Linked DNA regions of Homo sapiens: regions 2, 3, 4, 5, 6 and 7 are each linked to region 1. Evidence: promoter capture Hi-C in 16 types of primary human blood cells and fetal thymus (Javierre and others, 2016). All regions are on one chromosome and are shown on one strand. Each heading gives the region's core, a stretch centred on a gene start or on the middle of the fragment in contact. The rest is flanking DNA. Distances are from core to core; before and after follow the strand shown.

Region 1 (3,306 bases), core at 254-2,753:
GGATTACAGGCGTGAGCCACCGTGCCGGGCAGGGAGATCATTTTCTGCACCCCAACAATATCAAAGAAAAACATGCAATCAATTTAAACTCAGGAAATCTTACTTCAGCTCTATGCCCTCATTAGTACTAATACCATATTTCTTTATTCGAATGTCTACTGGTAATTTATCTTTAAAATCAAAGAAACTTCTCCCTGAACCAGTATTTTTAGAAGAAAAAAACATAAAGATGTAAATTTTGTTTGGTAAGAACTAGTTTCTATGAATCATCTAATGAATTAGTACTTCAATGACTTGCCAATATTTGTCCTTAACTCCCTTTCATAGGTTGGAGAAAGTATGGCTAACATAGATAATTTTACTGAGGTCAATTATGAATAATGAGGGTTGTTCATCTCTTCTACCCACGATTAAGATAAAGAAATGCCTAGAGAAAGACAGTCCTTTCAAGGACTTTGAAACGAGCAGCTTTTAGCCAAGACATACTAACGTGATGGCGCATTTCCTTGCATCAGTATTGTGTTATAACAGACTTGGCCATCTTATCAGAAAGCAAAAAGTATATAGCAAAACTTTACTTTTGTAAGTAAGGCATTGGGAAGAAACAGAAGATTCATTGACTGCATTTGTTTATATTGATTTTCTCAAAATCAGTTGTTTATTTTCAATGACGACGCCTCTACCGCCACCAGGTCAACAAAAACGTACTTGCTTTTGCATTTCCGGGACTCTAGCATTTCAGAGCAGGAATTAAAGGCCTTGCCAAGGCTTTTAAGCGATTGATGGAAACAAAACAAAACACAGAAGGATAAATTTTGAATTTGCTAAGACAAGAATTCGCACCAAGGCAGACATAAGACATGAGGATGTCTTCCTGACTTGCGTCCTTGGCTCGAATCGTTCTTATTAGCCCTTTTCAAAAGGCAGCTGTGACCTCCATTTCTGGCTAATCAGGCCACTTTTGTTCCCCCCGAGGCGTGGGAGGACAACAGTTAAGCCCTAACAGCCTGCGAAGCAGCTCCTCGACGAACGGCGGCGTCCCCGTCGCCTGGGCAGTGGGTGTGGGAGGTGACAGCCTAGTCCTGAGCCTCTGGAGCGGGCCTATACTGCACCGCCGTACGTGAATTTCAGGAGCGCGCAATGCCGCCACCTGGGAAGGGTGCAGCGAGGCTGACCTGAGTTTGCCCGCCGGGGTGGACGGCTCTCCGGGGCCCCCGGGGTCCCTGGGGCCCCTCCGTGCGCCGCCCCCTCCCGCGCAGCCCTGCACCCTGGCCCGTCGCGCCCGGTTCCGCGCCCTTCTAGGGGACCATGGCGACGGTACAGGCACGGACCTGCACCGCAAAACCCAAAGCAAAAGCAACTTGCCATGGCGGAGGGGAGACGCGCCCTCAGCGGCCGCAGAAAGCCCACAACCAGCGGAACGCAGGCGATGGGGAGAGGAGCGAGCAGGCAGGTTTTGGTTTCGTTTTTTGTTCCAGCTCCCTTGGAGGCTACGAAGAAAAGGGCGGTCCTTCCACCCGATCCGGCTGTTCTGCGACCTCGTGGCCTCTGAGTGGGAGCTCGGACTCAGGAGTGCTGTTGCCAGCGCCTGCCCAGACGCCCTCCGTAGTTTTGCAACTTGTGGAAGCACTCTGGAGAGAGGCCGAGAGGATTCCTCGACAGGAAATTTGGGAATTCTCTGGGTGATGCATCAGTGATTGCAATTTTGTTTTTACCCGTTTTGCTAAGCAGCAGCAACAACGGCAGAGTTGATTTAAAAAAAGAAAAAACGCAAAAAGGGAAAACACATAGTAGGTGGTGGCCGCTTCCTGTGTTGATACTGGGGGGCTACGCTTTTCCTAACATCAATCATCTCGTAGTTGCAGAGAGCCCTAGATGTCATGATAGTTTTGAATCGCATGCATTATCATGTAAGGGAGTTAAATATCTTGCATGCATGCTCTCTTCTGTGTTTATATATTCGATGCCATGAAATTGAAGGGCATGTGGCTAAAACCTTTTTACTACATGAAACTTTACAACACTTTTGAAAACATTTCAATTTGGTTGATGCGCACTGTAATATTTCTCCAGATAACTGTCCAAAATTTTCCATGGAGAAGGCTTTTATCCTCATTAGTTGCTGGCCTCAAACTAACCATCTAGGATATTAAACTTCTGCCAGAATTTTACATCCAGCTACCTTTACTTTTTAGAACGTATTCTCTATCATGTTATTGATATCAATTTCTACTTCACACAGATGGTTTTTTACAACAGCAAATCAAGTTTTTCTAACATCAGTTTTAAAAAGCCCTGCACTCAGTGAAATCTGGATGTCTTTCCTACGCCCTTATTATCTGTCCAGACTTCTTCCCCTTCCCCCACCGCTCACCTGGGCCTTTTCCTCTGCACAACCTACCCCAGTTCCCCAACCCCCACCTCAACCCCCAACGCCGTGTTGGTCACCTTCCCAGCCCAGACCAGGAGCCCTCTTGGACCTCTGCCGGGTGCTAAGGACACAGGATGAGAGCGCCAGGTCCCTGCCAGCAGAGAGCTCACCACCTTGTCCATGCCTTAGCACAGGAACCCCGAATGGCGCCTGTGGGGACACAGGGAATCTCTGGACAAACTTCAAAATCAAATCAATGAATGCATGAAGAACAAAGGTAGATGGCTAGCAGATATGAAGAAACCCAATCCCACTCCTAAGAAATGTAAATTGAAATAATAAGATACCATTTTTCACAACTAGATCTGCAAAACCAGAAAGTGTTAGCCTGAATGTAAGCATCAGAGTTGCTGCAAGCATAGATGGATGCAAATACTTCTAAAGATTTTTATCAAAATGTAAAGTGCAAAAAAATGTAAAATGCACATATTCTTAGTCTCAGCAATTCTACTTTTAGAACTGAACTTGAAGTTATAGTGCGCAAATGGCACTAAGATATTGTATAGAAATTTTAGTTGTACATTGCTTGAAATACAGGTAGTAATAATTTTTTTATAAACTGGGATCCACCTAGTTTATCATTGGATGGAGCTATTTGTTATACGGCTGATGATATATCAGTAAGGCACAAGGCTATGAAGATTTTAAAACAGAATGAGGTAGGGGGAAGTGGCTCCCGCCTGTATTCCCAGAACTTTGGGAGGCCAAGGTGGGCGGATCATTTTGAGCTCAGGAATTCAAGACCAGCTTGAGCAACATGGTGAAACCCGTCTGTACTAAAAATACAAAAATTAGCCGGGCGTGGTGGCACACACCTGTAATCTCAGCTACTCGGGAGGCTGAGGCTAGAGAATCGCTTGAACCCGGGAGGCAGA
Region 2 (3,306 bases), core at 356-2,855, 1.7 Mb before region 1:
TAGAGAGTGGTTCTAAGGCAATTCCTCTGTTTAATCAGAAATTTTGATTTTTCTTGCTTTTAGCTGGAAAAATGACCATCCGCCAACTTAATACAGTCTTTACTTGTTTTTGATCCAGAGAATATAGCACATTCATTGTGCAAGGTGTTGATTCAGCAAGGCTAACAACAACAAAAAGACAAGAAACTACGGAGGAGCTTGTAACTGCCTGTTTCTGTACAACCCAAATGTCCATCAAGAGATGAATGCATAAAGGAAGAGATATATATTTATACAATGGCATACTACTCAGCAGTAAAAAAAAAAAATGAATTACTGGTATGTGTAATAACATGGACTAACTCTATATACATTATGCTAAGCAAAAGAAGCCATGTAAATGACTCCATTTGACATTCTAGAACAGGCAAAATTAATCTTGGGCACTATTTATTAGAATGAGCAAATGATTAAAAAAATCTGGAACTCTGGTGGGAATGCAAAATGGAACAGTCACTTTGGAAAGCACTTCAGCAGTTTCTTATAATGTTCATATACATTTAGCCTGCAATCCCATTCCTTGCTATTTACCCAAGTGGAACAAAACCTGTATTCATACAAAAACCCATACATAAATGATTAGCATGTTTTTATTCATAATAACCCCCAAACTAAAAAGAACCCAAATGTCTCTCAACTGTGGAATGAGTAACCACGTCATAATATATCAATATAATGAAATACAACCCAGCAATAAAAATAGATCATTGATATACACAACAACACAGGTGGAGCTTAAATGCTCCATGTTAGTGGGAGAAACCACACCCAAAGGATACATACAAACTGTGATTTCATTTCTATGCCATGCCACAGAAAACAAGATCAATGATTTCAAGTGGTTGGCTACAAAAGGTGTGGGGGAAATTTTGGCAGTTATGAAATGTTCTATGTCTTTATTGTGATGGTAGTTACATGACTGTTTATTTGTGAAAACTCACAGAACTGTGGCCTTAACTCCATGGAGGTTTCTCCTTCAGCAGAAGCTATATATGTTATGAAAACCATGAGAGAAACAGTCTAGGAAGAAAAATCAATGAATTAAACTCAGGGAAATATCCACCAGGAGACTTAGCCACGAGCATCCACATAAAACTCTTTCCCATCTCTTGAAATCACAAACTCTATGGCTGGTAACATAGGTAACAGTGTCCTTTTCTCTCTCGGAATCCTACCTCTCACCTTGGCAGCCTGCACAACTGCTTATTTTCTTGACTGAGAAAGACCTGATTCTAAGAGAGAGAATTCTTTGTATTAGACAAGTTAGACCAAACTGAGATAAGAAATAAACTCAAACATTTAATGGCTCAAACAATAGAAGTTAGCTAGAATTCAGTCACATCACCTCACCGAACTAGAAGAGAGGCTGTAATATCAAGTCCAGGTGCATGCCAGGAAGATGGGGAAAATGGAATTGGGGGGACAACCAGCAGTAGATTTTATGCTCTGAAACCATTTAAAATAGCAAGTGGTACTTTCAACTGCTTTGCTTATCAAGGGTTTGGCTTAAACATAGGCAACTATTCACATATCTACTTTGTTTTGTTTTGTTTTGTTTTGTTTTGAGACAGGGTCTCACTCTGTTGCCCAGGCTGGAGTGCAGTGGTGCAATCATAGTTTACTGAAGCCTGAACCTCCTAGGCTGATGTGATCCTCCCACGTCAGCCTCCCAAGTAACTGGGACTACAGATGCATGCCACCATTCTGGGCTAATTTTTTTATTTTTCATAGAAACAGGATGTCTGTATTGCCCAGGCTGGTCTCGAACTGCTGAGCTTAAGTGATCCACCCACCTTGGCTTCCCAAAGTGCTGGGATTACAGGCATGAGCCAAAGAGCCCGGCTACTATTTTTATCAGGGCTTTTGACCATTCATAACTCTTTTGATAGAAAGATAAAGAACAATGGCAAAGAAGATAAAAAATCTTATCTTGTTATATTAACAGAAGTTTCAATAGTGAAAGATCTTATAATTATGGTTTCAGTTGAAGCTGATGAATTACTTGTAGGTTTAATGATGACACCACTCTGATCTTAGGTAATTGATAGGGGTCAAAATTATTAATATAATTAAATTTGTATTTGACATAATACATAATAGGCAAATCAATAACTACTAGGTGTAGCTGCTTTTGAGTTGACCTGAACTTAGAAGGCAGGATAGGCTGGAATCTTTCAGACAGTAAGAAACTAATCAGTGAGATTTTTCTAGGCTTTGCAAATTTTTTTTTTTTAATGTCAAATGCAATTCAGTATGACCAAGGGGGAAAGTGATGGCGCTGGGGAAAATACAGTTATGTAACGCCTAATGACAAAGACATGTTCTGAGAAATGCATCATTTGGTGAATTCATCATTGTGGAAACATTATAGCATGTATTTACACAAACCTAGATTGTATGGCTTGCTACACACTTAGGCTGTATGGTACAGCGTATGGCTCCTAGGCTACAAGCCAGATAGCATGTTACTATATTGACTACTATAAGCAGTTATAACACAGTGGTAAGTATTTCTGTATCTAAACATAGAAAATGTAGAGTAAAAACATAGAATTATAATCTTATGGGACCACCATCCTATATGTGGTCCAACGTTGATGAATATTGACAACATGGTCCAACGCTGTCATGGGGCACATGACTGTACTCCAAAGGATGACATAGCCCTAAACACTCAAGCATTACTCACGGAACAATTCTAATAATTACTACTGACAATGTGTACTAAATAGGTATATTTTACAACAAAAAGACAAACAAAATGTAAGCCATGATTAGAAGGAATACTGGGAACCAAACAGAATGTTTTCCTATCTTTGTTTCAGAAATGCTGGGTTCTGCGGGAAGTGCTAGCTGTGAATTATTAAGTAAGACAGAAATCTACCTGAAATATCACAGGTAAGGACAAGTAGCTAAGCAAGGAGAGTAATATCTAGCTCTGTGAAGGTAAACTACAATATAAAAAGGACTTTTGTATAAAGTAAATGCTCTTTAAATCTTTGTTAAATAAATACATAAATTAATCAAGTCTTATAGGGTATAGAACGTAGACATATTCACCAAATGCTGGAAGTGAGGATTAAGAAGATGAGTCTAGCACACTCATAAAAAGAAAGAATCACTTTGCACAAGAACAGTAAACCTAAGGAACATGTTTTCTTAAGAGGCAGAACGTGAAAAAATTTGTAGGACTGAGAGTGGAAAAATAAATTCATGAACAATATATCATTAATGGGTTACTAAGGGAAGCAAGGGATGTTTGAGGGT
Region 3 (3,306 bases), core at 297-2,796, 1.7 Mb before region 1:
GAAACCATTTCAAATGCCAATAAAAACTTTCCAAAAAAAAACATCTCTGGGCATGTAATGGCTGATTAAGTCTAAAGCAGTGAATTCTGTGATTACTTAACACACTATCTGTGTATGTACAGCTAGTAGGAGTGCTCCATTTATTTGTTTTGGATGTGATGAATTGTTTGTGATGGTATTACTTTTCCAAAGTTGTGGTGAGATTAAATACTAAAGTGTTCTGCCAAATACATGTCCTCTTGAAGATGTTTGTATTATAATTTTAGGAAAATATATTTGGGGGTAATTTTTACTGTTTAGTTGTCCACAAAATTTGTACACATTCAGAGGTCAGATAATAAGAACAGCTAAAATTTACTGACCTCTTCCACAGGAATAGTAAGAAATGGCTTGCATATGTCATCCCTCCTAAACCTTAAATCTTCTCATGAGATGGGTATTAACAGAAGTGGAACTTGCCCAAGGTCAGAAAACTTGTAAATAGCACAACTGAGATCCAGACTCAGGAGTTTTTTTCCAAACCCCAGTCTCTTAACCACGATGCTGTACAGTCCTTTGATTTTGGATGAGTATCTGGATAACTGAACTAGTCATGATATTTCATGCATGTTGTAATGTTGAGAAATTTCAGAATCCTAAAACAGTTGTTAAAGGTTGGAACATAAGAATGAGCATGAAAATATTATAAGCGACTTGATTTCCTAGAACCAAATGGAAATTAAAATAGTACATGATCACGTAGCAAATTATTAGCATACATCAGAGAACAAAAGATAAGCAGAGCATAACTGCTGAGAGGTATGATGACAAAGCCTGTCAAAACTCTTTCCAATGGGTCTGAAAATCTTTATTGTTTTGATCCCACCCCTACCACACCCTCTCTCCTGAGCTGTGGAAGATCGGTGGGTTAAATTCTATCATCAAATGCAATAATGGAGTTTCAAATATTCAAGTTGAGTGAGGTATGCTTGTCATTCAACTTTACATCCTCTATCCTGACTACTCTCTGAATTCTAGGTTCCCAACTCTAAGTATATGCAGATATTCACCACCATTTTAACTTTACCACATAAATGTAAGAGGGCTATATGCTGCAAACTAGTACTTGGTAGTGAGACCACCAGGCTAGGCATTAGGGTCCAAGGCCCAATTGCTTGTGTTCCAGTCCTGGCTCTGCCATTCAATATCCATGCGACTTTAAACTCATCACCTGGCCTCTCTCTGCTTCAGGTTTCTGATCCATGAAATGGGAATAATAATACTTATTTCATGGGGTTGTTATGAAGATTATATGCATTATGTATAAAGCACTTAGCTAAGTGCTGGGCACAGTAAGCACGATGAAAATGTTGGCTTGTTACTATTATTACCAGTGCTATTATTATTATTATTCTTTTAGTCATCCATGTTGAAAACTGCAGTCTTTTGTTTGGATTGCTGGAAGTGGGATTGGACAGCAAGACCTAGGGAGCAGTCAGTTCCTGCTTTAATTTCTACTTTGGAATATTTATTTCATTCTTACGGCCACCACCCTAATTTAGGCCTCTATTACCTTTGAGTTACCCCATTACAACAGTAGTCTTTTTGTTGCCAGTTACTTTTTGCCTACAGTTTATATCCTATACCACCAGGAGATCTATCTTTCCAAAAGTTGATTTAATCGAATTATTCTTCTGCTTGAAAACCTTCAATGTTTAATGCTATAGCATATCGGTGAATTCCTTATTCTGGAACTAAAAATTCCTTCAATCTAGCCCCAAGGTGTCTTTCTAGCCTCATTTCCCAAGTCCTTGCAGTCAAGGAAACTCTAGGTAAACCAGTCCACTCTCTTGTGTTAGTCTCATGTTTTAGCTCCTGGAATATCCTCTGCTCACTATTCAAATCCCGCCTGCCTTTCAAGGGCCAGCTGAGATTTCCTCTCCTCCAAGAGTCTCTAGACATGCCATAAGCTCTACGACTTGGAGCAGACATGAAGTATGTCAGCATCAAACGTCAAACTTTACTAATTCAGAGTGGACGTATATTGGATATGATTAAGTAAAAAGCAAAGGAAAGGTGTAGAGTTTGAGAAAACCTCTGTGAATCATAAAATTTTAAATGATTTAATTATTTTTATACCGTGTTAGTCCGTTTGGGCTGGTTTGACAGAATACCACAAACTGGGTAATTTATAGTTAGAGGTAAACTTGAACAATTTGGGTTTGAACTGCCCGGGTCCACTCATATTCAGATTTCCTTCTGCCTCTGCCACCCCTGAGACAGCAAGAACAATCCCTCCTCTACCTCCTCCTCCTCAGCCTTCTCAACATGAAGACAATGAGGATGAAGACCTTCATGAGGAGCCCCTTCCACTTAATAAAGAGTAAATATATTTTCTCTTCTTCATGATTTTTTTTTTAACATTTTCTTTTCTCTAGTTTATTTCCCAGCACTTTGGGAGGCCTAGGCGGCGGATCACGAGGTCAGGAGATCGAGACTATCCTGGCTAACATGGTGAAACCCCGTCTCTACTAAAAATACAAAAAGTAGCCGGGCGTGGTGGCAAGTGCCTGTAGTCCGAGCTCCTCAGGAGGCTGAGGCAGGAGAATGGCGTGAACCCAGGAGGCTGAGGCAGGAGAATGGCGTGAACCCAGGAGGCGGAGCTTGCAGTGAGCTGAGATCGCGCCACTGCACTCCAGCCCAAGGAAAAAAAAAATTCAGAATGTAATACATTTAACATACAAAATATGTTAACTACTCATGTTGCCAACAAGGCTTCCAGTCAACAGTAGGCTGTCAGTAGTTCAGTTTCTGGGGAGTCAAAAGTTATATGTGGATTTTTGACTCAGCCTGGGGTTGGGGTGGTCGGCACCCCTAATCCCCCTCTTGAACTGTAATAGAAATTTCTCACTGTTCAGGGTGCTGGCAGATGGGGTGTGTGGTAAGGGCTCTTTCTCTGCTTCCAAGATGGTGCTTTGTTGCTGCACCGTCTGCAGGGATGAACAGTGTCCTCACATGGCAAAGGGAGGGAAGGGTAGAAGGGTCAAGGCGCTCTCTGAAAAGGGCATTAATCCCATTCACAAGGCAGAGTCCTCATAACTTAATCACTCTCCCAAAGGCTCCACCTCTTAATATTACCAACTTGGTGTTTGAGTTCCCACCTATGAATTTTGGAGGGACAGGTACATTAAAACCATACAGCGATGGCAGGCAATGATAGAAGTAGCAAAGGGCTTGCTGTAATCTATTTTAATAAGTAGAAGGCATTGTGTACAACAGAATGCCTGACATAATTGTTCAAGATCAAATTAATAGCCCCATCATCTC
Region 4 (3,306 bases), core at 557-3,056, 1.7 Mb before region 1:
GATCAGGTAACATTCTCTGTTTTAAATTTTATTGATATTTCTGAATTCCAAGGAAATTACTTACATATCAGATGGTCTTTGAAACCTTATTTTTTTCTATTATTTTTAGTATTCTCTGCACTCTGTCTTATATTTCTGCCCTTTCTCCTGCATAAGTAAAACAGAAAGATTTAGTTAGCGTTTGAGGATGAAAATTATCAAGCCTATATTCTCAACAACAATCTGGGATTTGAGTTAATTTTAATGTCCAATTTGTGTCCCTCTTGCCCCCTTTACATGTGTGACTTTATTTTCAGCTATCTTTTAATATTATTCACTCTTAGTCACACCAACTATGCTTATCCCTACCTAAGTCCTTCTCATCTTGTTATCACCAGCTGGTAAATTCTTCCTGCTTCCTTTACTTATATAAATGTGGCTGCTTTTTCAATATCAGCTCCAAGCCATCTCCTCCATGAAGCTATCTGGGTAATTCACAGAAATCTGCTTTCCTGAATCATAGAGCATTGCTCAGTGTAGCTCATGATTATAACCTAGTCTTAGTTGCTTTTTAATTAGTTTGCACACGTGTACATATACACACACATGCACACACACACACACATGACCAACTAGATTACAAGCTTTTCAAAAGTGGGGGCTGTACCCCAGTGACATCTAGTAATATGCTGAGTATCATATATACATTTTCAATAGATAGCCATTTTTTGTTTATCTCTTTGATTGCGGAGGCTAAAACATAATAGGTATTTAATAAATGTTGAGAGATCTGAGGAATTGATTTAAATTACTCTGCTGAAGTACTAGATCTTTGATAATATTAGATTGTGACATTTGGTGTGACAATTCTGGTAGTCATTAGCATATACCTTTGCAAGAGCTAGCTCAAGTCTTATACCTTCCATGACAACTTCTCTAGGCTAATACAGTCCTCATTGTTCCTCCTGGTCCTGAATTTCTCCTTCTCCTGTTTCTGAACTCCTAAAGCATCGTACATCTACATTGGGCAAGTGCCTTAGGACTACATCTGTAGAATGGGTTTAATAATAGTGCCCATCTATTTGGAACTATGATAATTAAATGACAATATGTATAAATTACTTAGAACATTTCTGGCATATTATAAGTAATCAATAGGTGTTTTAGTCATGGTTCTCCAGAGAGGCAGAACTGATAAGATATATGAATTAGCTCAGTTGATTATGGAGGCTGAGAAGTCCCATGATAGACGTCTGCAAGCTAGAGAACCAGGGCAACTGGTAGCATGGCTCACTGCAAAGTGTGAAGGCTTCAGAACCAAGGAAGCCAATAGCATAACTCTCAGTCCAAGGCCAAAAACCTGGGAGCCTGGGGGTTGCTGGTGTGTTTCCCAGAGTCCAAAAGCTGAGAAGGGGAGTTGTAACATTCAAGAGCAGCGGGAAGAAGTTATCCTAGCTTTAGAAGACAGAGCAAGATTTTGCCCTTTCTCCACCCTTTTATTCCATCTGGGCCCCCAGCCAATTGAAAGGTATCTGCCCACATTGAGGGTGGATCTTCCCCACTCAGTTCAAAGACTCAAATTCTAATCTCTTCGCAGAACATTCTCAGAGACATACCTATGGTGGCCTAATAATTTTAATCAAATGCCAAATCACCTGGAGTTTCCTTTCAGCGGAAGAGCGAAGGACTTTAATTTATCACAGTCTAGCTGGCGAGATTGTGGAGAAAAGGGAAAACTTATACACTGCTGGGGGGAATGTAAATTAGTTCAGCCATTGTAGAAAGCAGTTTGGCAATTTCTCAAAGAACTTAAAACAGAATTAAGATTTTGTCCAGCAATTCCATTATTGGGTATATACTAAAAGGAATATAAGTCATTCTACCATAAAGACACATGCACACATATGTTCATCACAGCAGTATTCACAATAGCAAAGACATGGAATCAACCTAAATGCCCGTCAATGGTAGACTAGATAAAGAAAATGTGGTACATATACACCATCGAATACTATGCAGCCATAAAAAAGTACAAGATCATGTCCTTTGTAGCAGCATGAATGAAGCTGTAGGCTGTTGCCCGAACAGAAAACCAAATACTGCATGTTCTCACTTATAAGTAGGAGTTAAACATTGGGTATGGACGCAGATAAGGGAACAACAGACACCAGGGTCTATTTGAGGGTGGAGGATGGGAGGAGAGTGAAGATCCAAAAACTGCCTATCAGGTATTATGCTTATTACCTGGATGATGAAATAATCTGTACACCAAACCCTGTGACATGCAATTTACCTGTGTAACAAACCTGCACGTGTACCCCAAAACTAAAATTTTTTTAAAAAGTCACATATTGAGGTAAAAAAAAATACAAATAATTTTCATTAGAAAAAACTTATCCCAATCTACCTTATACCTCTTCACATGCAGTATAAGAACCTCACAACAGGGTGCTTCCATCTCTTTATCCTGATGGCTGCTGTTCTCATGTATTTTACTTCCATGTTTGCTGTGAATCCCATACTACACTGCTCTCATTTTTGCTTTAAACAGTCGATTCTATTTTGATGATATTTTGTAAAATGAGAAAATTGTTTTTTTACATTCCTCTACAAACTTACCATTTCTGGCTTTCTTTAATCCTTTGTGTAGATTTAATTTTCCACCTGGTGTTATTTTAGCTCTGCCTAAAGAACTTCCTTTAGCGTTGTTGGAGTGGAATTCTTTTGGTGATGAATTCTCTTCATTTTGTTCTTCCAGAAATGTACATTCATTCTTCACATTGGAAATATATTTTTCTTGATAAAGAAATGTAGGTAGACAATATTTCCCCCTCTCAATACATCTGGCTTGCATAGTTTATGATGGAAGTCTGCTGTCATTCTTCTCTTTATTGCTTTGTTTGCAGTGTGTCACAATGTGTCTTATTTTTATGGCTGATCTTAAGATTTTCTTTTTATCATTAGTTTTTGGCCATTTAATTATATAGTGCTTTGGAATCTAATACCATTCTCAAGCTTTTACTTGATACCTTATATATTTCGTTTTTGGTTTTTAAAATTTTGTTGTTGTTGTTGTTATTGTTTCATCTTGGCTGGTGGGAACATGAACAATTCCTAGCGCTCTGTGAGCTGCAAGAATATTTCTGAGTACTCCTTTCTTGTGTTTTTTTCCCAAGCATGAGTCATTTCCTCTCATGCATGCACAGATCAGTACTTAGGCAAAGCCTCCTCCAGACCCCACTGCAGATCTCCAGAGTTCCTTTTTTGTGCAGCTCCTTCATCTGTGCTACCATGCCCCACGAACTCCACCTTTTGTAATATCCCTGA
Region 5 (3,306 bases), core at 289-2,788, 1.6 Mb before region 1:
TAATCTCTCTGCTGGGTCTTGAGATCCATCTAGAACTTGGCTATAACCTGAGAATGTTTTGTGTTCTGGTTTTTTCTTCACTGTTGGAGTCTGCTTGAGAAGGCTGGAAATGTATTTTCATTCCATTTTTCAGTATAACACATTGTGAGTCCTCACTGAATTAGATTCTTCCCCCTGAAAAAGCTACCCCTGGAAAGATGTTTGGCACTTTTGGATATTGCTCTTTTGTGTTTTTTTTTTGGACCCCCAGGGAACCATTTAGTGAAAATGAACCATTATACTTGAATTCCCGTTCAGCCACTAGAAGAACCATTGCCCATGACTTCCCATTCACAAAAGCCATGCTCCAGCATAAGTTTCTGTCTGAAGCACTTTCTAGTTCCAATCCCATGTCTTTGGAATATTTCAGGCATGCAGGAGATCTTTTCTGGAGGTTTTACTGGAATGATTAGTTTGTGCTTGAAACAGGAGAAGCAGCTAAGGATGAGGCCTACTGGGACTCTAGATGCCATGGAGACAAGCAGATATTAGTTATGATTTCCATCATTTTTTTCACTACCTCTCTGAAAGTAGTAGATATTGTGATAAGACCTCTCAAGGAAGGGAGGACAATTATCCTCTTTCTCCCCTACCTCACCTTTCCACCCTATAAAAGTGTGGCAGACTCAAACCAAACTTGTTGGCTGGAAGCCTAAAGGGATTCCTCCTCATGTGGCAGGCTGTCGTAGCATTTTTATGATAGCTAGTGTTTCTTTTGGTCTGAAACTCTGGTATGTGAAATATAGGTCAGGGGTTGGAAATTAATGCCTGCTTTTCATGTGAGAAGGAATAATTGGCATGAAATGTAGTAAAGAATGCCTGCAAGCCTGGCGGTGTTGGGTCATTTTTTTTTTTTTTTTTTTGTTATTGGTTTTGGCTGCTATTCCCAGAAAAATAATGGGCAGGTTCACATTTCTTAGAACATATCTTTATCAACTCTGACAACTTACTGTGTCTTGGACCCCCAAGAGACAGTCAGCCTGGAAGTCTTTGCTTGTGCCATTTCTGTGCTGGATCCTTGGCTGTACACACCATGACAAATTAATACAGATGGAATAATGAATTTCTCTTATCCCTGAGACCAGACCTGCTGGGGAAAACATCTATATCCTTTGAGAGATTTGAAATTAGTATAACAAGTTCTATACAGAGATGATCATGTTGAATAAAGGTTTTATTTTACTCTTACATGTACAGTCATCACTGGAGTATGCACATATTACAGGGAAGCTTAGTCTACAAATGGGTTGGGTTCTAACCATTAATTTTGGAATGTTGCAGACATTTTCCTTTATGAAGAATGTTATAGGTCTATCTGACTTAAAAATCAATAGGGGAGTAAAAGTACAGTGCATTTTCAATGAAAAACAATAGAAAACACATAGTTTTAATACTATTAATTAGGCAAAACAGAGGAACAACACAATCGAAGAAGAAATAGTTTTTGCTTTTCTCAAATGTGGGTGCTTGCAGTTTGATTAGGGGCAGATGAATCAATGCCTTTTGGTGTTTTAAAGTGGTTTTGAAAACATTCAAGGACTTGAAGGGTTGGAGGCCAATCTTTTTCTATTAAGTCTGTGACCATTATAGTTAAAAAAGCTCATTAGAAAAAAGAAACCTGAAGCAACTTTTTTTTTTTCTCATTGTCTCTTTAACACATTGGGTTGAATAGCTTTTTTCCCGATTCTTGGATGAAATTTTGAGCAGATCTCAGAGTTTTAAAAATTGCTCTCTATTTTCTGGCAATTAGTAATCTTCCAGTTACTTTAAAGCTTTAAGCAGTTCAGTTCAGCATAATAATAGAAACCCATTGTCCTCTTTAAATTTTCTCCCATTTCCCAGCCAGGGCCTGACCAAGAATTGGAAGCCTGGTGTGTGTGTGGTGTTTGTGTGTATGCATGTGTGTGAATGCATGTGAATGTGTGTATAAATGCATGTGTATGAGAGTGTATGTATGTGAATGTAAAGTGTGTGTGTGTGTGTGTGTGTGTGTGTGTGTGTGTGTGTGTATGAGACATGGCATCTCCTCTTCCATCACTAACTATGGCTTCTAGTGCCTTCAGCACTGGAGGGGGATAAGGGAGAAGAGTTAAGGGGACATCAAAGAGCTTACTGATGTGATTTGGATTTGCCATCATGGAGGCTCAAACCTGACTTTATCACAGGGGTGTTTTTGGAGTGATTTTGCCTGTGGGAGCCTCAACTGCAACTATAATTACTGTAAGATAGGTGATACCTCATACAGTTTGTTACTTTTGACACTGTCCTCGATTCCTGGCAGTTTGCTATGTCTTTCCAGGCAGTCCTTCCAAGAACTCTAGGTTTGTTCCTTCCTGTGTGGCACACAGTTGGTGTGCAGAAAGTTTGATTCCTGCCTTGTTCTCTGCATTGCTCCTTCAGGCCGGTCTAGCCACAATGTCTTATACCTGCACTAACATTCTTTTAAAACTCTGGGAGATATTTATCAAACTCTTCAAGTGTCTCCTCCCCTTGAAGTTCCTCTCACTTGGCTTAAAGCAAAGAAGTAGGTTTTCTCCCTTGGGAGAGCCATGCTGCCAATAACTCTCTCAACAGGATTCTTCTCCAGTTCTTCAAACTGTAGAGGTTTTTTTTTTTTCTTTTCTTTTTTTTTTAATTAGGGTTCATTGATGCTGATAAAAACGGTTTTACAATCATCTTAGCAGTTCTGCACAGGGCTCTGTTCTTACCTCACTGTCATATGATATTTAGGCCTTAGGAGCCTAGAAAAAGCTGAAGTAGAAATAATTTTATTTATTATTCTGTCGAATGTCCAATTTACTTCAATACATGAAGTCTTCTTGGCTTTTGCTGTTGAGTATTATTAATACTGCTCCAATCAGCCCGAATTCAGGTTTTTTATGCTCACAAGTAGCATTATGAGAAAAACTAAAAGAAAGGTATTGGTAAAAAAGACATTGCTTACTCTGAGATAAATCTGACAGTGATATATGACAGGAAGAAATGCAAATGGCAAAGAAATATTAAAAACATAGTCTAGCGTGAACTTGAATGTGGAAAAATGGTGGTGGGGAAGGGAAGTTTCTACTAGGGGACAAGGTCAAATGGAGGACATCTTGGTGCATATTTAGGGTAGACACTGAAGGGGAGAAAAGGAGCAGAAATGGTGTACAAATGGCACCATTCAATTTTCCTATTACCAACCTGGAAATTATCATTATTCATAGAGAAAACTATTCTTCAAATTAATCACTTGATTCTCCTTGTTCTAATGCAATCTCATATCCT
Region 6 (3,306 bases), core at 388-2,887, 1.5 Mb after region 1:
GTATGTGTCAGTGTACACTGTACAATCAGGGCTCATTGGACCATTTTTCATTTCTGAATTATTTCGAGCAGTTCTGTTTGTAAGGATTGAAATTTCATGACTTATTCTTTCTTAGGGATCTTCAAAAGAATAAAGAAAACTGAGCTATATTTCTCATAAAGTTTATTTGATCTTGAAATTACCACATTGGTCTATTGGACATTTTTTAATTTTGAAATACGTTTTGGGATTTTAGTGGTCACATATTGTTCTTTCTCAAAACATTCTCCTATTTCATTATTTTAGTATTACTCATCAATTCTCAACTATGGTCGAAAGAATAAAATAATTATGATGGAATTAGGATTCCAGTAAGACTTTCCTAAGACTTTAAGTATTTTTTTCATCTTTTATGAGGTCTGCATCCTAATTTATTTGATACTGTTTGTAAGTGGACAGATGCTAAGGGCAGATGTGTATACAAAGGTGATTTGGAAAAAAAAATGCAAAAAAGAATTATTGGGTTGACCATTTGAATTGTTTGTAATCTAAAAATGAAAATATGTTACAAATTATGGAGCAAAGAAGATTGTTGTCCTCTTTTCGTCAAAATAAGCCATGAAAGGCTTAAAAATTCCTTCAAACATTGTGTTTTAATGACGCAAGTGCAAAAAAAAAAAGCAGGAATAATGACAAGCTGTAACCAATTTGAGATGTATCTGAAATCTGGAAGTGGTATTTACAAGATGGATATGTTGTAGATTCATACATGAAGTTAGTAAGCAATTATTTGCACTCAGGTCGTGCCCATTTTTGGTGTACATGACTTTAGGGAAACTGGGAATTGAAATTCGGATTTGCTGTATTTATTTCTTATGAAAATTTTTAACAAAGTTTTTTTCCTGCTGTCTTTTTGCTCTCTAAATTATTCTTCAAGTGTCATGAAAATAAAGGAAATAAAAAAGCCTCTTTGGACTTATATGATAAAAATATTGATGACTGTTTTCCCTGTTATACTGAAGATTACAAGCTTCAGAGGAGAATATAAATTTAACAGGATTGCCCATGAATTAATTGTTTAAAGCTGGATGATGGGTATATGAGTTTTATATACTTCTCTCAACTTTTTCCTGTGTTTGAAATGATCTGTAATAAAAGTGTTGGGTTTTTTTTTTAATTTTCCCATGTGAATCTAATGATTTACCAATGTTGGGAACTACAGGTGTTATTTATTTTTGAAATTTCAGTCACTTAATCTGTCAGAGGATCACCTTCCTCATCTGTTTCAACAGAAAGATGTAGAAATGCTACAGTCTGGGTTGCAGGTGGTCGGGCGATTGGGTGAAGGCCTTAACCAGTGTAACTGCTATAGCTACCATGCACTCTGCACCCACTATGCTCATGTTGCATTGGCAGGAGAGGAGAGAGCACTTTCCTCTGCTCCTGCACTTGGCTTTGACGTGTAAAGAGACACTTTGCTCTAGGGATTTAAAGACTTGAGCTATCTATAGAATGTGATTTAGAGAGGATACCAAATTATTTAAAATAATGGTCATCCTCTCAAGTTAGAAAACTATAGAATCTAATAAAGTTGAGAACATTTGCTTACATAAACATTTAAAAATTGATGGTTAGTTTCATGCATATGATACATCTAAGTTTTATTAGTAGCCAGCTGGTAATAGTTTTTACAACTTTTAAAGTTAGCTAAGTACAGCCATACACCACATACCATTTTGGTCAACAGTGGTCTGCATATATGCCTGTATGATGGTGGTCCCATAAGATTACAGTGGAGCTGAAAAATTCCTATTTAGTGGCATTGCAACTGTCCTAACTTGGTAGTACAATATATTGCTCACATGTTGGTGTTGATGCTGGTATAAACCAACCTATTACCAATCTAGTTTTATATAACCTTCCAGTCATAAAAAAAAATACAGCACAATTACGTGCAGTACATAACATAATTCTTGATAAACAATTATGTTACTGGTTTATGTATTTACTATGCTTCTTATTGTTTTAGATTATATTACTTCTGCTTAAAAAAAGTTGACTGTAAAACAGCCTCAGGCAGGTCCTTCAGGAGGTATCCCAGAAGAAGGCATTGTTGTCATAGGAGATGACAGTTTCATGCATGTTGTTGCCCTTGAAGACCTTTCAGTGGAAAAAGATGTGACAGTGAAAAACAGTGATATTACCTTGACCCTATGTAGGCCTAGGCTAATGTGTGTGTGTCTTAGATTTCAACAAAGAAGTTTAAAAACTAAAAAATTAGAAATAGAAGCTTATAGAGTAATGGTATAAAGAAAAAACATTTTTGCACAGCTGTACAGTGTCCTTTTGTTTTAAACTGTTAGTAGAAAAGGGTAAAGTTAAATTTTAAAATTTATAAAGTAAGAAAGTTACAGTAAGCTAAGGTTAATTTATTAATGAAGAGAAAAATTTTTTAATTTAGCGTAACCTAAGTGTACAGTGTTTATAATAGTCTATTGTAGTGGACAGTAGTGTCCTTGGCCTTCACCTTCACTCATCAGTCACTCGCTCACTGATTGACCCAGAGCAACTCTTTGTCCTGTAAGCTCCATTCATTGTAAGTACCCTATACAGGTGTACCATATTTTATCTTTTACACTGTATTTTTACTGTACCTTTTCTATATTTAAGTATGTTCAGATACACAAGTACTTATTGTTGTATTACAGTCGCGTGCAGTATTTGGTATAGTAACATGCCGCACAGGTCTGTAGCATTGGAATAATAGGATATAACTGTATAGCTCATAGGTGTGTAGTAGGCTATATACCTAGGTTTTTGTAAGTACGCTCTTGTGATGTACAAACAACAACGAAATCACCTAATGATGCATTTCTCAGAACATATCCCTGTCATCAGTGTATGATTGTATTGTATTTTCATTGTTAGTATCATAAAATGCATTAGTTACGTAAGTAATTTAATCTCACCAGGAAAGATTCCAACAATTAAAGCAAAGGCTTTCACCGATCTACCTGTGTGTCTTTTTACATCTTTTTCTCTTTGTTTACATATGTATAGTCATTTAAAATACATGTTTTTTTCACTGTTATAGGAAAAATATAATTGGAATCATGTATATTTTGCAGCCTTGTTAAAGTGCCTTTTGGAGTATATTCTGTATTAGTATACATAGGTCTACCTCATTTTTTCATGACTGCATTGTATTTCATAATATAAGTATACCAGTTTATTTAAACATTTCAAATGTCAGAATCTCTTACCCAGGACTTGGAAATTACTAGTATACAGTCACGTTTAATCCCATTGTTTACTTATGAAGTTTTA
Region 7 (3,306 bases), core at 548-3,047, 1.4 Mb after region 1:
TAAAAAGTCATCAAAGCCTTCTTTTAGACAAAAGTGTACAAGGACACAAGACCATTATTATCCCCTTCCCCAGGTCTCTCAAATTAGATTCAGTAGCATATCAAGCTAAATCTTTATACTTTATTTCAGTATAAGGGTCTAATTTTCTATACCTAAGAAATATATGATCACAAATACACGATGACTTAGAGATTACTGAAAAATCATCTTTCGAAGAAGTAACAACTTTCTTGATTCCGCATGGCCAAATGGGTGTTTGCAAACAAGAACTTAATGCTCATTCATTTATCAAAAGCTAGTTTTAAAAGTCTTAGCCTAAATTTAAGATTAAGACCTAATGACAAGGATCCCATTCACAATGTAATGTGAATTTTGTTTAAAAAGATCAAAGTTGGCCAGGCGCGGTGGCTCACGCCTGTAATCCCAGCACTTCGGGAGGCCAAGGTGGGTGGATCACGAGAAATCGAGACCATCCTGGCCAACATGGTGAAACCCCGTCTCTACCAAAATACAAAAAATCAGCCAGGCATGGTGATGCGCACCTGTAGTCCCAGCTACTTGGGAGGCTGAGGCAAAGGAATTGCTTGAACTCGGGAGGTGGAGGTTGCAATGAGCTGAGATTGCGCCACTGCGCTCCAGCCTGGCGACAAAGCAAGAGTCCGTCTCAAAAAAAATAAATAAATAAAAAATAAAAATCAAAGTCTAAGATAAATGTAAGATTTTCGTTAAAATAAAAACAAAAACCAAAGCCTAAGACAGAGCAAACTGAATTTCAACTCAAGACAGTGTTCACTAGTTCTTCATGACTAACAGAATCATTCAGACTGGGAGAAGATTCAGATTCCCACTTTGAGTACACTGAGCAAGAAAGCAGCAGAAGTGGCTTTCCTTTTAAATCCACCAATGCAAAATATCATGACAGAGATGATAAATTCCTCTTCAAAAGGTTTTAATTCCCAGTTCTTCCACTTCGTTTTTCTGGTTTCTGTAGTTATCCATGCTATAACTAACCCTTCCTGCCCTTGCCGCGCCCTGACATGCCTAGACATGTCTTACGCCATAACGCATAGCCTTCCCCTTCCCGCCTAGATATCTGTGTTCAATTACAAACAGCAGCCAATCGAGTCAGTTTAGATTGTGCAGTCCAACCCTAGCCAATAGGGGAAAGACACAACAGTAGGGACCAGCTGTTAGGAATAAGAACCCCTTTCCCTCCCTTGTCCAGTGTGCTCTTGCCATTGCTCCATCCGCGAGACACACCCTTCTACAGAAGTAAATTGCCTTGATGAGAAAACTTTTGCCTGAGTATATTTTCACTTTGTGACACCAAGCATTTACTTCCAACAATTTGGGGGCCCACCCAGGATTCCCATTCTCCTCCGGGGAACCGGTCTCTGGTCACTTCTTGTGGGGAGGCGCATCCCATCGCCTTGTTGCAGTGGCCTCAGTGTGAGAGATTGGAACCCATCCAGTGCAACAAATAAACCCAGACTCTCGGCAACAAGAAAAGATACAGGCCAGCAGCTTGGCAAAAGGATTCTCACATGCTGCAGCAACCAGGTAACTCTGCACAGACCAAGGTAAGAAATGTTGCAGGGGTGACAAAGTATTTCCTTGGTGGTTGGGATATTCTGGAGGATGAAAGTGTGTGTGAATGATCACAAGCACTACTGCTTGCGGTGCTGCTTGTGTGAATGGTACCAAGCACTACTGCTGTGCAGAGTGAGTGGGTCCTATCTGCAGTTCTGTGGTCACTTCATACAGCTTAGGGCGGATCCTGCTGTGGGTTTCATACCGGCATGCCAATGCCAAGAGGGGCCTAAATTCCCACGAGGGAAGTAGCCAGAGTGGACAAAGCAAAAGAAGGATGCAAGGATCCTCCAGGAGGCGGGGTTAAAGGATAGGCAAGAAATCTCTAATACAAGGGACTGAGCCTTAACAAGCCTCCAGAGAATAGGCAAGAAGTCTCTAATACTAGGACCTGACATGGGAAATACCCTAAGCAAGACAAGGAGTAAAAAGGATAAAGGTAGCAGTAAAGATATTGCCCCGATAGTCCCCTAGGTCTCATGTTAAAAGACTGGAAAGATAATGAGAAGACTAAACATAAGCAGCAGCAATTACTGTTTTATTTGGACTCAGGGACCCATCCTCAAACCCTCAATCTTCTGGCCAAAGTTTAGGTCAAATGAGAGTGCGATGTGTCAGCTTTTGATTCAATATGTCAATGATAAAAGCCCAGCTTCTTAAGAGGAAATGGACTATGCTCTTTGTTGGAGGCAGGGACCTGTCCTCCTTTTTCCCTTTGAGACAACTAGGAAAGAACCTGATCTAGCATCACAAAAGGAAAAATTAGGTAAGTTAGTTCCAATGCTCAAAGACTCCAGCACATGGGATCCCCTAGACCATCTTCCCCCACTCAGTGACCCCAACCCCTCTCCTCAGGCAGCCGCTGCTGCCCCAGATCCCACTCTAGATCCTTCACCTACTCATGTTACTCCTCCTCCTTACAATCCTGACTTTTAGAAATTATCATCCCAGGAGCCTGTCCCCTATCAGCCTAAGGACCCCTCCCTAAAGGGACTCCAGTGTGAAATAGAGCAATGTAAAAAGGATATCCAGAACTTCCCTTTCCCCTCTACAACTCAAGAGTCAGCCCCTGCTCTCTTTCCCTTAAGAGAAATGCCATAAAGAGGGGGAACCATTGGCTCCGTGAATGCTCCCTTAATCAGTTCAGAGGTCCAGAATTTAAAGAAAGAGCTTAAGCCACTGCAAGATGACCCTTATGGAGTGACAGATCAAACTGATCAATTTTTAGGACCTCAGTTATACACTTGGGTAGAGTTAATGTCCATCTTGGACATCCTCTTTTCAGGAAAAGAAGGGAGTGTGATTCGTAGGGCTGCTATGGTAATTTGGGAACGTGAGTGTCCTCCCAGTCAAAAAGTTCCTACTGTGAACCAGAAATTCCCCGCCCGAGACCCCCAGTTGGACAATAAAAACATGCAGGACCTAAGGGAGATGATAATAAAAGGAATTCAGGAATCAGTACCCCAAACCCCAAATCTCTCTAAAGCATTTGATATATAACAAAAAAAAAGGATGAAGGGCCTATGAGATTCCTAAATAGACTGAAAGAGCAAATGAGACAATATGCAGGCCTCAATTTAGAAGATCCCCTTGGGCAAGGAATATTAAAACTCCAATTTGTCACTAGAAGATGGCCAGACATCTCAAAAAAAATTACAAAAGTAGAAAATTGGGAAGACCATCTCCTAAGTGAACTTCTCAGGGAAGCTCAAAAAG

Evidence for each region. Contacts are between HindIII fragments. The CHiCAGO score rates a contact against its expected background, and 5 or more counts as called.
Region 2: a fragment that was not itself captured here is called in contact with the fragment with the promoter of RBM43 in region 1 in 4 of 17 cell types (total CD8 T cells, naive CD4 T cells, activated CD4 T cells and 1 more); the score reaches 10.7 in total CD8 T cells.
Region 3: a fragment that was not itself captured here is called in contact with the fragment with the promoter of RBM43 in region 1 in 8 of 17 cell types (naive CD8 T cells, activated CD4 T cells, monocytes and 5 more); the score reaches 14.1 in naive CD8 T cells.
Region 4: a contact is called between a fragment that was not itself captured here and the fragment with the promoter of RBM43 in region 1, in 15 of 17 cell types (total CD8 T cells, naive CD8 T cells, total B cells and 12 more). The highest score is 33.1, in total CD8 T cells.
Region 5: a contact is called between a fragment that was not itself captured here and the fragment with the promoter of RBM43 in region 1, in 9 of 17 cell types (naive CD8 T cells, M2 macrophages, monocytes and 6 more). The highest score is 11.4, in naive CD8 T cells.
Region 6: a contact is called between a fragment that was not itself captured here and the fragment with the promoter of RBM43 in region 1, in 7 of 17 cell types (total CD8 T cells, naive CD8 T cells, non-activated CD4 T cells and 4 more). The highest score is 10.5, in total CD8 T cells.
Region 7: a contact is called between a fragment that was not itself captured here and the fragment with the promoter of RBM43 in region 1, in 1 of 17 cell types (total B cells). The highest score is 5.6, in total B cells.

The regions. Positions count from the first base shown.
Region 1 is chr2:151,260,360-151,263,665 of GRCh38, forward strand. It overlaps RBM43 (RNA binding motif protein 43), which reads right to left and starts at 1,504. Exons shown (of 4, transcript NM_198557.3): 1 at 1,366-1,504. The coding sequence starts at 1,368. RefSeq lists a silencer at 1,048-1,317 and an enhancer at 1,358-1,587. The HindIII fragment of the contact is 8,034 bases long and covers 1-3,306 here.
Region 2 is chr2:149,530,055-149,533,360 of GRCh38, forward strand. No RefSeq gene overlaps it. Among named protein-coding and RNA genes, the nearest start is that of MMADHC-DT, 56 kb to the right of the region's middle. The HindIII fragment of the contact is 3,710 bases long and covers 1-3,306 here.
Region 3 is chr2:149,556,558-149,559,863 of GRCh38, forward strand. No RefSeq gene overlaps it. Among named protein-coding and RNA genes, the nearest start is that of MMADHC-DT, 29 kb to the right of the region's middle. RefSeq lists a silencer at 1-192. The HindIII fragment of the contact is 4,195 bases long and covers 1-3,306 here.
Region 4 is chr2:149,598,427-149,601,732 of GRCh38, forward strand. The region is part of intron 1 of MMADHC-DT (MMADHC divergent transcript); the gene reads left to right. Among named protein-coding and RNA genes, the nearest start is that of MMADHC, 12 kb to the left of the region's middle. The HindIII fragment of the contact is 2,371 bases long and covers 622-2,992 here.
Region 5 is chr2:149,616,441-149,619,746 of GRCh38, forward strand. All of the region lies in intron 1 of MMADHC-DT (MMADHC divergent transcript), which reads left to right. Among named protein-coding and RNA genes, the nearest start is that of MMADHC, 30 kb to the left of the region's middle. The HindIII fragment of the contact is 542 bases long and covers 1,268-1,809 here.
Region 6 is chr2:152,725,003-152,728,308 of GRCh38, forward strand. All of the region lies in intron 2 of ARL6IP6 (ARF like GTPase 6 interacting protein 6), which reads left to right. Among named protein-coding and RNA genes, the nearest start is that of ARL6IP6, 8.0 kb to the left of the region's middle. The HindIII fragment of the contact is 1,260 bases long and covers 1,008-2,267 here.
Region 7 is chr2:152,700,351-152,703,656 of GRCh38, forward strand. All of the region lies in intron 2 of PRPF40A (pre-mRNA processing factor 40A), which reads right to left. Among named protein-coding and RNA genes, the nearest start is that of PRPF40A, 15 kb to the right of the region's middle. RefSeq lists enhancers at 525-1,152, 639-1,838, 2,111-2,612. The HindIII fragment of the contact is 5,812 bases long and covers 1-3,306 here.